Linked DNA regions of Homo sapiens: all the other regions are linked to region 2. The links are contacts of gene promoters, found by promoter capture Hi-C in human tissues and cell types (Jung and others, 2019). All regions are on one chromosome and are shown on one strand. Each heading gives the region's core, a stretch centred on a gene start or on the middle of the fragment in contact. The rest is flanking DNA. Distances are from core to core; before and after follow the strand shown.

Region 1 (3,420 bases), core at 473-2,972, 380 kb after region 2:
TGTGTAGTTAAAATTTCAGATACACTCAGAGATAAAGTTTACTGAACATATATTTTGTTTAGGCCCAATTGTTTGTGTTTTTTCTTTGTAATTACAAAATTGTTTCTTAAATTTTAATTTGAAAATTAAAATGCACAATTCTGTTGTTATGCATTGCTTTGACTTTGAAATTTTGTTGTTATGCATTGTTATGCAGTTTTCAAAGAAGAAATGAGAGAAAGGGGTGCAGAAAGTTTGAGTTGCTCTGCCATGCACTTTTTATACTTAATACAGAATGTAAAGACTACTTAGCCATTTTGGACAGAGCTTTCTATACCTGTCTTAAAAACCCATCTGTTTTCCTATGTTACAAGGCATGTGTATATGGGTAATAGAAGCCAGTTTACCTGTAGAAATAAAATGGTCATATAGTTTTACTTTATAGGTCAGCTATTTTGAAAAAGAGCAATAACTGCAACTCTCTCAATATCAGCAGACAAGAGACACTGTGTGAGAGAGTATATGGAACCTTTGTAACATTGTGGATAAGTGAGGCAACTATTACCTCTATTTTCAAAGTTTAAAATACATCATGCAAAAGTTACAGGGCAACTGCTGACTTTGTAATCTGTGAAGCAAGTGTCTTACAGTGTTGGGAATCTCTGTTGATGCACTGGCCTCATCTCTGTTGAGAAGTGAAAACCGGATAACCTTAGTGGAGGAATCTGGCTCAGTTGGTGTTGAGATCAGAACTGTATTATAACTTGTAAATATGCTAGAAATGTAGACACACTTAGTGGGATGCTTTTTTTTTTTTTTTAAACAGTGGAGTAGAGGCATTTCGGCAGTGACATTATTAACAGCGTCATTTTTCTCATTTACTTTTGTCCTCAGGGGACACCAAATAGCTCCCAGAGGAGGAGAAAAAGGTCCAAGGTTATTTATTCATTTCAGTGCAAAGGGCTAGCAATGGGGGTGGGGAAACTAACCAGTTGTGAATTCTCTGGTGGGGAAAAAATTACTACCCTAATTTGACAGTAGTACGTTAAGGGCTGGGTATGATTTTGTTTTTTGTTTAAGAGTAGTAGACAGTAGTAGTAGTACTCAGTAGTAGTTTAAGAGCTGGGTAATTTGATTACCTGAGCTGGTAAAATTGATTTTGCAATTCTCATCAAGTACAGGCACTTTCAATACTTCTTGATTGTTTATATATGCATTTATGAGTGGATTTTTGGTGTTCCTCCTTGTGGATATAAATTTGTGTTTTCCAGACTACACATGTATGATTTTTGTGGTTCATTTGGAAAAAGGAAAGATCCCAGGGCATGGTGCAGTAGATACTTGCAGTTTTGCAGGCCTGCTTTCTGGGGTCAGGAGGTCATCTGTCTCTTTTGCATTTAGTTTTTAAATATTGATATTGGTGATGCAGCCAGGGTGTGTAGAATAGTTGAACCTTCTTGCAAACCACATGCAAGAGCCAAAAAAAAAAAAAAAAAAAAAAAAAGGCATCGAGTGTATTGGAAATGACAGCTTTGTTAAGTTCCAAGAAATCTTTCATGAAACTGCCCAGGATTTGCAACCTGTCGCTGCAATTTCTTTAGGAAGGAAAAGGTTAAAAGAAAAACAATATTAGATACTTGAGATGTCAAGCTCCTCTCTGGAGATCCGTAGTGAAAGGCTCAAATGTGGTAGCGTTGCTTATTTCAAATATACAACTGGGTTTTGAAAAATCCAGTGAGCTGAAGCACTGGCATTCTATTTAGAAATCAATAAACTTTCTGTTAGTTAGAAAGGAAACTTTTTTTTTTCCCTTATAAGGCAGCAAGGAGATCTAGGGAGGAGATCTTTAAGAATACTGAAATAACAGAGTTTCCTGTTGCTGAGAGAATCATTCACTTCTTTCTGCCTCCTCAGCCAGGTTTTGGGGTGAATGAAAGTGGCCTGTCACACCAGTGCTTTTAACCCTCTCAGTGTGGGAGGGAGAGATGAAGAGTTTAGGATTGGTAAGTACCAAAGTTTAAGAAGTGTTTGGCCCATTTTGATACTATCAGAAGCTTTTCAGAGATATTTCCACTCTTAATACCACGACACAGACGTGCTAGAAAAAATGGAAAGTGAATACAATGCAGGCACTTTCTCAGTTCCTCCTTCTACCTGGGATTTAAAAGATTGAGATTTTCAAACCAAAGGTGGTGGACAAGTGTTGTGTTAAGAGAAGCCAGGCATCCCATGCACCGAAATCCACCAGTCCCTCTTTCCAAACAACTCCCTAGAGTTCTTCCAGGGAAGGCCTGCAATGACCTTGGCATTGGCTGGACAAGAAGAAGTGTTTTGGGGGGTGTCAGCCATTCTCCACATGGCTGCAAGGCCTGAGAAGACAGTCAAAGCCATAGAAACTGAGCACCCCCATAAACCTTCTTTTTCAGGAAGTCTCTGTTGCTCACTCTTCATTCCTTTTTGGTTTTCCTCGCCTCACCATACTCCTATCTCATTTTCCTTTTTCTGGGAAACAAATCAAAACCAAAAACTATCAAGCATCCTCTATGGTCATCAAAGTGCAACCAGCCATAAGCACCCTCAAACGTGGGGCAATTGAAAGAGATTTGAACCCCTAAGTGATGGGCCTGGGAGGCCCCAGACGTCTTCACTTCTCTGGGGTCTTACCTGGATCTGACGCTGCTTCTTCGCCCTTGGTGTTGCTGAAGCTTTTGTGGGCTCTTCTGTGTAATACTTGTCAATTTTTCGTTTTTCTTTTTTAAGCTTGTGAAAAACTTTTGGATGCAACCTAGTTTTGGTGGCAGAAGGAAATGGTTTCTGTTGGGAAAGGGAAACTAATAAAGGGAGGAGGGGTAGCGATGTCGGGAGACACTTGCCCAGGGCTCAGCCCTGGGCCTCTTTTTGCCAGGGGACAACGGCTGGTTCTGGGCTCTCAGGCTGAAAGGAGTGCTCTCTGGGTGCCAGGATTTCACTGGGGGTGGTGTGGTGAGGAGGGAGGGAAGAAGGGAGGGAGGGAGAGAAGGAGAGATGGGCGCTCGATTTTTAAAGAGACCCCGAAATAATGGCTTCTATGAGAGTCCAGGCATTCAAAGAGGTGTGTTCAAGGATATTAGTGCATTCCTGCCAAGGGGAATGTCTTTTATGGTAAATTAACTCCAGTTAAATTGAATATTTGTTCAAAGGGAAACTGCAGTAGTTAAAGCTGGTATTATCAGTAGAGCTTCCCCACCCCCTCCCCTCAGAATCTGGTGAGGGTGAGAAAGGGGATGCAGTGTAATGTGCAATACAAAGTGATGCTTTCGTGCTGGTGGTTTCTCTGTGTGTGTGTGTCTGTGTGTGTTTAATCTAAGATGAGGTTGCCTAAAATTTCTGAGAGAAATGAGTATTTACTTGGATTAACCCTGTCACCTCATTTCTTTCATCCATAAAGACTGCCAACTTTAT
Region 2 (3,839 bases), core at 1,340-3,839:
TTTTGGAAATTGCACTAAAATCCAGATCCTCCCTAGTCACGGCACAGAAGCACAGGAGTTGGCTGTGTTTACCCTCATAAATGCCCTGAGTGTGCCTTTGTTAGAAGCTTGGTTGGCAGTGGCAGCAATGCTACTTGTCCTTGTCTACTTTTTCTACTTCCAGATAAATATTAGTTTGATTAATAATCACATTTCAGTTTGTCCCAGGCCCCATGAAGTAGATTAGAATTCTGGAGGGAAAAAATATGGTACGATCTATATCGTCTTTCCATAATATACCCAGTAAATAGAAAATCTTTTCAAAAGATTACCTGATGCCACATCTCCCTCACCCCCTTATTGTTACCCAGGTGCCTGAATGTATGGGTTGCAATACAATATAACCAATGATTAGCATGAATGATAGAACCAGATGACTTGACCTTCAGTGTAAGGGATAGGCAGGCCTTTGATTATACTCATGAAATGCCCATGCTAAAAAGGTTCATGTTTTTAAGGATGTTTCTCCTGCCTCTTCTCTCCTATTCCCTTGCTTAAAAATTCTCTGTGGAATTGATTTGGCTGATAAAAGACAGGCTAACTTATTTTAAAAAGGGACTGAAAAATCCATGCACTTCCAATTGTCATGTGCAATCATGGACCTGTCAACTAATTCTTATTTTGGCAGTTTTGAGATCACTTGTCACAAATTATTCCCTCTCACAGGGGTATCTGAAGAGAAAGCAAAATAATATGCAATTCATGTAGCTGGATTCAGGTGGAGGGGATTCTACTTTTAATATGCAATTGGGTAGCTGGATTTGGGTGGGGGGGGGATTTTACATTTAATATGCAATTCTGGTAGCTGGATTCGGGTAGGGAGGAGTCCACATTTAATATGCAATCAGGTAGCTGGATTTGGGTAGAAGGGATTCACATTGAATACGCAATCAGGTAGCTGGATTCCGGTGGGAGGATTCCACATTTCCTCTTCCTTCAAAGTGATTGTTTATATGAAATATCTCCTTCTTTTCAAACAGAGAAAGTTACAAAAATCCTACTACATCAAATGATTTATGAAAAATAAAGGTAATTCTATCAAAAGCAATCGTGACTAGTCTTTCAACCTCGCTATGCATATATCGGGGAGTGTATTTGTTAACCTGAAAGGCAATAAAATCTGCTTATGGGTAAATCAATTCCTACCACTGGGTTCTTTTGGGAATATCTAGTAATCTAGGTCAGTAATTCTAAAACTTGAGTGTGTATTAGGATCACCTAAAAGGCTTGTTACATCACGGATTGCTGGGCTACACCTAAACAGTTTCTACTACAGTAGATCTGGGATGGGGCAAAAGAATATGGATTTCTCACAAGTTGACAGGTGATACCGATGCTGCTGGTCTAGGGATCCCACTTTGATAACCACTGACCAAAGTTTTTAAGGTCACAAGGTGTTTATAATTAGTTCAGAAACCAGGACACAACATGTTTAAAAATCCTTAGCAATACAAGGTAATATGAGGCCCCAAACAGGCAACAATGTGCACTATATAAGGGCAGTGGTGAGAGAACTCTGGTTTGGCAAGATTTCCACTCTCAAATCTGGATAGGGTTAAGATCATCAGAGAGCAGGGCATTCTAGAATGGGGAAATGAACCAAATTAGTTGGAGCTAAGACTGGAGAGGTAGGTAGGGATGTGTCTGTGGAGGGCTTTTAAGCACATCTTATAAGGAATACAGATTTTATACAACAGGTAATATTTCTTCCACCAACACACTGTCTCCTCCTGTGGCACGTGGGCAGAAAGATCTAGCTCCACATTACTGCAAACGGTTTAACCTTCCCCAAATACTGTTCAGCCGGAGTGAGGTGGGAAAGTTAGTAGATCTCTGGTGTTTGGTGAAGATACCAAGTTAGACTGAGAGGTGGATTACTTGCATCGCTGAGTCCAAAAGTTGTCGGCTTTTGCAGGGATGGGAAAGCAGGAAACTTTTGGAGGTCTCCCAAAATATAAGAAAAGATTGTTTGGGTGTGGATTTAGGTTGAGGACAGGAACAGGAAATATCCTGGGATGTCTGAGGCAACCCAATAGAGGGTCTGAAGTGGACGAGACCATGCACTACAGTGCAATGCTTTTCCATCTTTACGGTGCACCCCAGGAGTCACCTGGTGATCTTGCTGAAGTGCATGTACTGATTCAGCAGGCCTGAAATTGTGCATTTCAAAGATTGTGAGTTCCCAGAGGATGCTGATGCTGCAGACCGCGCTTTGAAGCAAGGTACCATGGGACATCCCAGAACACCTGCGGGGAGAGAGGCCTGCTGGCCACATCCCCCGAAGAAAGGATACATGCAATCTTTTAAGCTAAGGCCCCCATCCTGTCTCTCGGGAGAGGTGAGCAGTGAGGATATGGGGACAATGAGAAGGACGGCTCAAGTAGGGCTGGGGAGGGGCAGAGGCGCCCAGGCGCGCCAGGTGCAAGCGCTCTGGAGAGTGCGGTCTGCCTGGGTCCGCGGCTCTGGGGCTGCGGCGCGATTGCAGGAGTTTCGGCCCTCAGCGGCTCCCATCGCGGCTCCCGGGAGCTAAGCGAGACGGCGACGGCGGCAGTCGTCCCTCCCCACGCGGGCGCGCGGGCATGCGGACACCCACTCGGCCGGTCCAGGCCCTCAGGCTCCCGGAAGCGGAAGGGGAGAGCGGCCCGGCCTGGGCGGCGGCGCCGGAGGAGGCGGAGGTGGCGCGGCAGGAGGAGGGGAAAGAGCTGCTGGCGGTCGGGAGAGCGGCGGCAGCGAGAGGCGAGCCAGCGGCGACGGTGAGTGTGCAGGCGCGGGGGCGAAGCGGCCGCCCCCACCCCCATCCCCATCCGCACCCCCACCCCCATCCCCGGCCCCCGCTCCGCTCTGCCGGGCCCGCCCGCCGCTCCTCCGCGCCGGGACGCCCTCACCTGTTCCTGCACGCCCCCTGCACCTGCTCTGTTTGGAACCCGGGGGTTTCTCGGTGCCTCCCCGCCCCAGGCCTGGCCTTTTTCAGAGCGTCTTCTGCTAGAGCTACAGCCCCTTGCTAAGTGCTCCTCCCTCAACTGGGGGTGGGGGGTTCCTGCTCTAGTCGAGACGATGTTGGCTAGTTATTTATTTATTTATTTTAAATCTGTATCCTGAGTTTCTCGCTTGTAAACTACAGTTTCTCTCCCCGCACCCCCGTCTGGAGACCTGCACTGGGATCCCGGGTTTCTCTGTGCTATTCCAGAGCTTTTCATTCATTCCAGACTTCTGGTGTGAAGCTGCAGAGAGGACAAACAGTTTGCTCCTTTATTGACCTTCTCACTCCTCTCCTCTTGATCCAAAGAGGTTTTCGGAAAATGGCTTATGGATGGCAGCAGTTTGCACTTGTTACTGTTCACTGTAACAGGTCGCTGGATTGTAACTGCAGAGTCCATTTAAGTTACGGTCTTTTTCAAGCTATATGTGGGTCACATTTTAAGATCCCTTGAGAGTCAGGGTGGATGTCTGTATCACCAGGGCTGAGAGGACATGACCAATTATTACTTTAAAATATTGCAATATAGCAGTCTCTAAAAGTAGAAGAGAAAAAAAAATCAAGGTCATTGTGGGCGGGTCATAAATTATATTGTAAAGTTACAGTCCAAAGGCGACTAAGGATAATTAAGTGCAATTTAAAAAGATGTGTTAAATAGGTCCTCAGCCTACTATGCTAATATATGCACTTTTAAAAATTCACTGCTTTCCTTGTGGTAAGAATAATATTAATAACAGTCACCATTTGATGACTGCTTAGTATGCGCCATTCCTGGATTAAAAGGCTTTTGGTGTAATATTAAATTCTTCCAACTCTTTAGATT
Region 3 (3,674 bases), core at 926-3,425, 360 kb after region 2:
TATTCTTTTTTACAAGTTCCCCTGGGCGATTCTAATGTTTAGCTAGGGTTGAGAACTCTAATTTATAGTTTAAGAGAATAGTGCCTCTTGGTGAAGAACGCCCATTCTTTTACTAAGTATGCAATGAACTCCTATTATTGGAGACAGTTTGCTGAAGACACAAAGATGAAGTCGGTAGGCACTGGGCTCCTTAAGTTAAAATGTGGTAGGAAAATGCTAATGCGCAGATCAGAACCTCTAGAAGCAAGATTGAGTGCTTCTAAGTTCTTACAAACAGCACAGGACTGAAAGTTAGAGCCCCACTTTACAATTCAGGTTCTGTCACTAACTAGAAAGGTGAACTTTGGACAACTCACTTGACCTCTTTGGGCCTCAGTCTGGTCATCTGTAAGAAGAAGTGGCTGGACTGAAAACTCTATATACTCCAGCCTTACGGTGCATTCCTAAATTCTTAGAAACCCATAAGCTTAGCCAGGCAATTACCAAATACTTTGGGAGGCTGGCTCACTTACTCCTGCATGCCACTGACGACTGTCTTTCTGATGTTTTACCAAATCCCTTTCCAAAACCCCAAGTATCAGGGTGTTAATTTTTAAATAATCCTGGGCTCCCTTAATTCTCTCCCCTAGTCTCTTACAAATTAGCAGATGAAGAGAATGGAGTAGTGGTAATGTCTATGAGCAGTGGGTAATGACTAACAGAAGTTTATCCAGTTGGATAAATGTCTAGTGGATTGCTGCTGGGGTCAGTGTTAGTTCTGGTCTTAATTAACATCTTCATTAATAGTGTGGGAGAGGGAATAAACAATAGCTAATGATATTTGCAGATGGTAGTAAATTTAGAGGTGTTGCTACTACCAGTGAGAGCAGCAAGAGCCATGGGGATATCAGAGATGTGAACAAGAAGTGATTATAATGATGTTTGTTCTGGAAAAGGCAGAATGAAATGTTTAAGGGGGAAACAACGGGGGAAATTGGGAAATGATCAAAGAATCAGCCATTCTTTTATCAAAGAATCGCCATTCTTTGTAACCTGGGTGTGCGTTTAGCAAACGAGGCAGCTAATAGTCTTACAACTTCCGTTGCACATACTGGGATGTTGTCCTGAACAACAATAATAATCACAGCAACAACAATAATAGTAATAATAGCCAACATTTTTGAGTGCTTACAATAGGTCAGACAGGGTTCCAAGTGATTTACGTGAAAGCAATTTTTGTCCCTAAAATCATGATTCAGTTCTTCTAGGCTTTTTACATTTTCTGACAGGATACTTGCTACAGATCTGCAATTTCTAGATTTGAACAAACCTGTGAGTTTCAGGGGAAACAAGAAGTTTAAAATGGGATGGCCAAGTAAAGTGGAGAATATGGTGTGTCCTCTTTTCCCAGGCTCATGAGCAGAATGTTTCCATCTTTGATTTTTCCTGTCCCCAACCTGCCTACCATCTTTTCTCTATTTAGGCAATTGCTGGGTTAACGTGATTGGTGACAGTAGACGGAAAACTATCGCAAAGGTTCAGAAAGAAAGGAAAGAAGGGAGGGGGATCCAAGGGGGGAAGGAGGGGCAGGAGAAAGGAGGAGAGGGAGATGGATAGATAGATGGATGGATGAAGGAAAAAAGTAATAACATAAAGGAAAGAGAAAGAAACAAGAATGAGGGAAGGAGGGAAGAAAGGAAGGAAGAAAAGAAGAAAAGAAGAGAAAACCCTAATGTATTACTGTGTGTCTACCACAAGTCACACGGTAGCTGAGGTGATGAGCTAGGTATATTTCACATGTTTTCTGGTTTAATCTTTGCTGATCTACTTCCCACAATGACTCTCTCCAGTATTCATTATTAGCCTTCACTTCTGTAGATAAAATAAAGGGAAGCTCAGATGTTAGGTCACTAGCTATGAACACACAGCTGATAGATTGCAAAGAGGTTCAAACTCCAGTTGTTCTACTCCTAAGCTCATTTCCTTTCCAACCGCAAATACATATTTTCTTTTCTTTTCTTTTCTTTTTTTTTTTTGAGACAGAGTCTCGCTCTGTCACCCAGGCTGGAGTGCAGTGGCGCGATCTCTGCTCACTGCAACCTCCGCCTCCCGGGTTCACGCCATTCTCCTGCCTCAGCCTCCCGAGTAGTTGAGACTACAAGCGCCCGCCACCATGCCCGGCTAATTTTTTGTATTTTTAGTAGAGATGGGGTTTCACCGTGTTAGACAGGATGGTCTCGATCTTCTGACCTTGTGATCCGCCTGCCTCGGCCTCCCAAAGTGCTGGGATTACAGGCGTGAGCCACTGCGCCCGGCTACGTATTTTCTTTTCTTTCAATTTAGCCCTGCCTGAGTTAATGGCAACATACAGCTACACATAGAGAGCCAGAAGGTAAAAATATTAAGAAAAGAATCAACACCGAGGAACAGAGGGACAAAGGGAAAGTGGCCAGTACATGCATTTACTGCCCAGTCTAATGTAATTGAATTATTTACAATTACATCTTGAAATTACAAAACATAGAATTCATAAGCAGAAAGGTTTCAAGACAATGGAACCCATAATAATATGGATTTGACCTTGAGGGAATTTGGCAGACAGCATCAGTGTCTGAAACAAAAGTAAACTGAAAAGAAAAACAGCTGAATGTATAAAAGCCAAGACTCTTCTTGGGAAGTGTGGAGCCCGAGGCCAGATGGATGCCAAAGGTCTTCAAAATGACATCAAAGGAGCTTTAGGAAGTTGGAAACGTGTGGCCTGGGCATGTGTCCCCCGCCACCCCAGTGGGGCTCCAAATGCCAACTCAGGGTTAGAAAATGAGAACTGAAATTTTAAAGTGAGGAGATGTGCACTTCCGAGTATACACATAAAATGTCTAATTCAAAGAATATAGAGTAAACACCAATGCAATAATGACCCCAAGTCAAGAAATATAACATTGCCAGGTCCGCACCCCATCACCTCCCTCTCCTGAGAGGTAACCATTATTATGATTTTTCTCACCATCATTTCCTTGCTTTTACTTTTTTATTTTGATTTCAGCACTTTTGTATGCCTGTTTTTGAACTTTACATAAATAAAATCATACTGCATGTATCCTTTTATGACTTGCTTCTTTCTTTCAACCGTGTGTTGTATATAAATAATACAATGCATTTATCCATTCTGTGGTTGAGGGAACTTTTGCTTGTTTCTCCTCTGGAGCATTTATGGACTATTCTACTGAGAACTTCTTGTATATGTTACCTTCTGCACATGTGCAGGAGTCTCCCTAGGGTAGCAGCCAGAAAACTATCACCCACAAGCCAAATAGAACCTGTTAACTGCTCTTATATGGGTTGAGAGCTACGAATGGTTTTTACATTCTGAAATGGTTGGAAGAACAAAAACAAAGAAGAATAATATCCCATGACATGGAAAAGTTTTATGAAATTCAAATTTCAGTATCCATATATAAAGTTTTATGGAAACACAGCCAGGCTCATTGTTTATATATTGTCCGTGGCCCCTTTGTGTATAACATTGGCAGAGTTGAGTAGTTGTGACGGAGAGTGTATGACCTGCAAAACCTAAAATCTGGGCATTATGGCTACAAAATGCCCAGTTTCAACTGAAAAATTCAGCAGCGCTTCTTACTTAGATAAAAAGGGAAAAAAGCACAAAATAAATAAATAAATAAATAAATAAAGTGTTT

The links. Contacts are between HindIII fragments. The study calls those that stand out against the background at their distance.
Region 1: a contact is called between a fragment that was not itself captured here and the fragment with the promoter of ZDHHC21 in region 2, in 1 of the 25 tissues and cell types used here (dorsolateral prefrontal cortex).
Region 3: a contact is called between a fragment that was not itself captured here and the fragment with the promoter of ZDHHC21 in region 2, in 1 of the 25 tissues and cell types used here (dorsolateral prefrontal cortex).

Annotation. Positions count from the first base shown.
Region 1 is chr9:14,316,569-14,319,988 of GRCh38, reverse strand. It overlaps NFIB-AS1 (NFIB antisense RNA 1), which reads right to left and starts at 2,902. Exons shown (of 2, transcript NR_186536.1): 1 at 2,644-2,902. It also overlaps a transcript of NFIB not described here. The HindIII fragment of the contact is 6,213 bases long and covers 1-3,420 here.
Region 2 is chr9:14,692,182-14,696,020 of GRCh38, reverse strand. ZDHHC21 (zDHHC palmitoyltransferase 21) reads left to right here and starts at 2,589. Exons shown (of 10, transcript NM_178566.6): 1 at 2,589-2,792. RefSeq lists an enhancer at 2,084-2,584 and silencers at 2,658-2,727, 2,808-2,947. The HindIII fragment of the contact is 8,706 bases long and covers 1-3,839 here.
Region 3 is chr9:14,336,735-14,340,408 of GRCh38, reverse strand. All of the region lies in intron 1 of NFIB-AS1 (NFIB antisense RNA 1), which reads right to left. It also overlaps a transcript of NFIB not described here. Among named protein-coding and RNA genes, the nearest start is that of NFIB-AS1, 21 kb to the right of the region's middle. The HindIII fragment of the contact is 5,546 bases long and covers 1-3,674 here.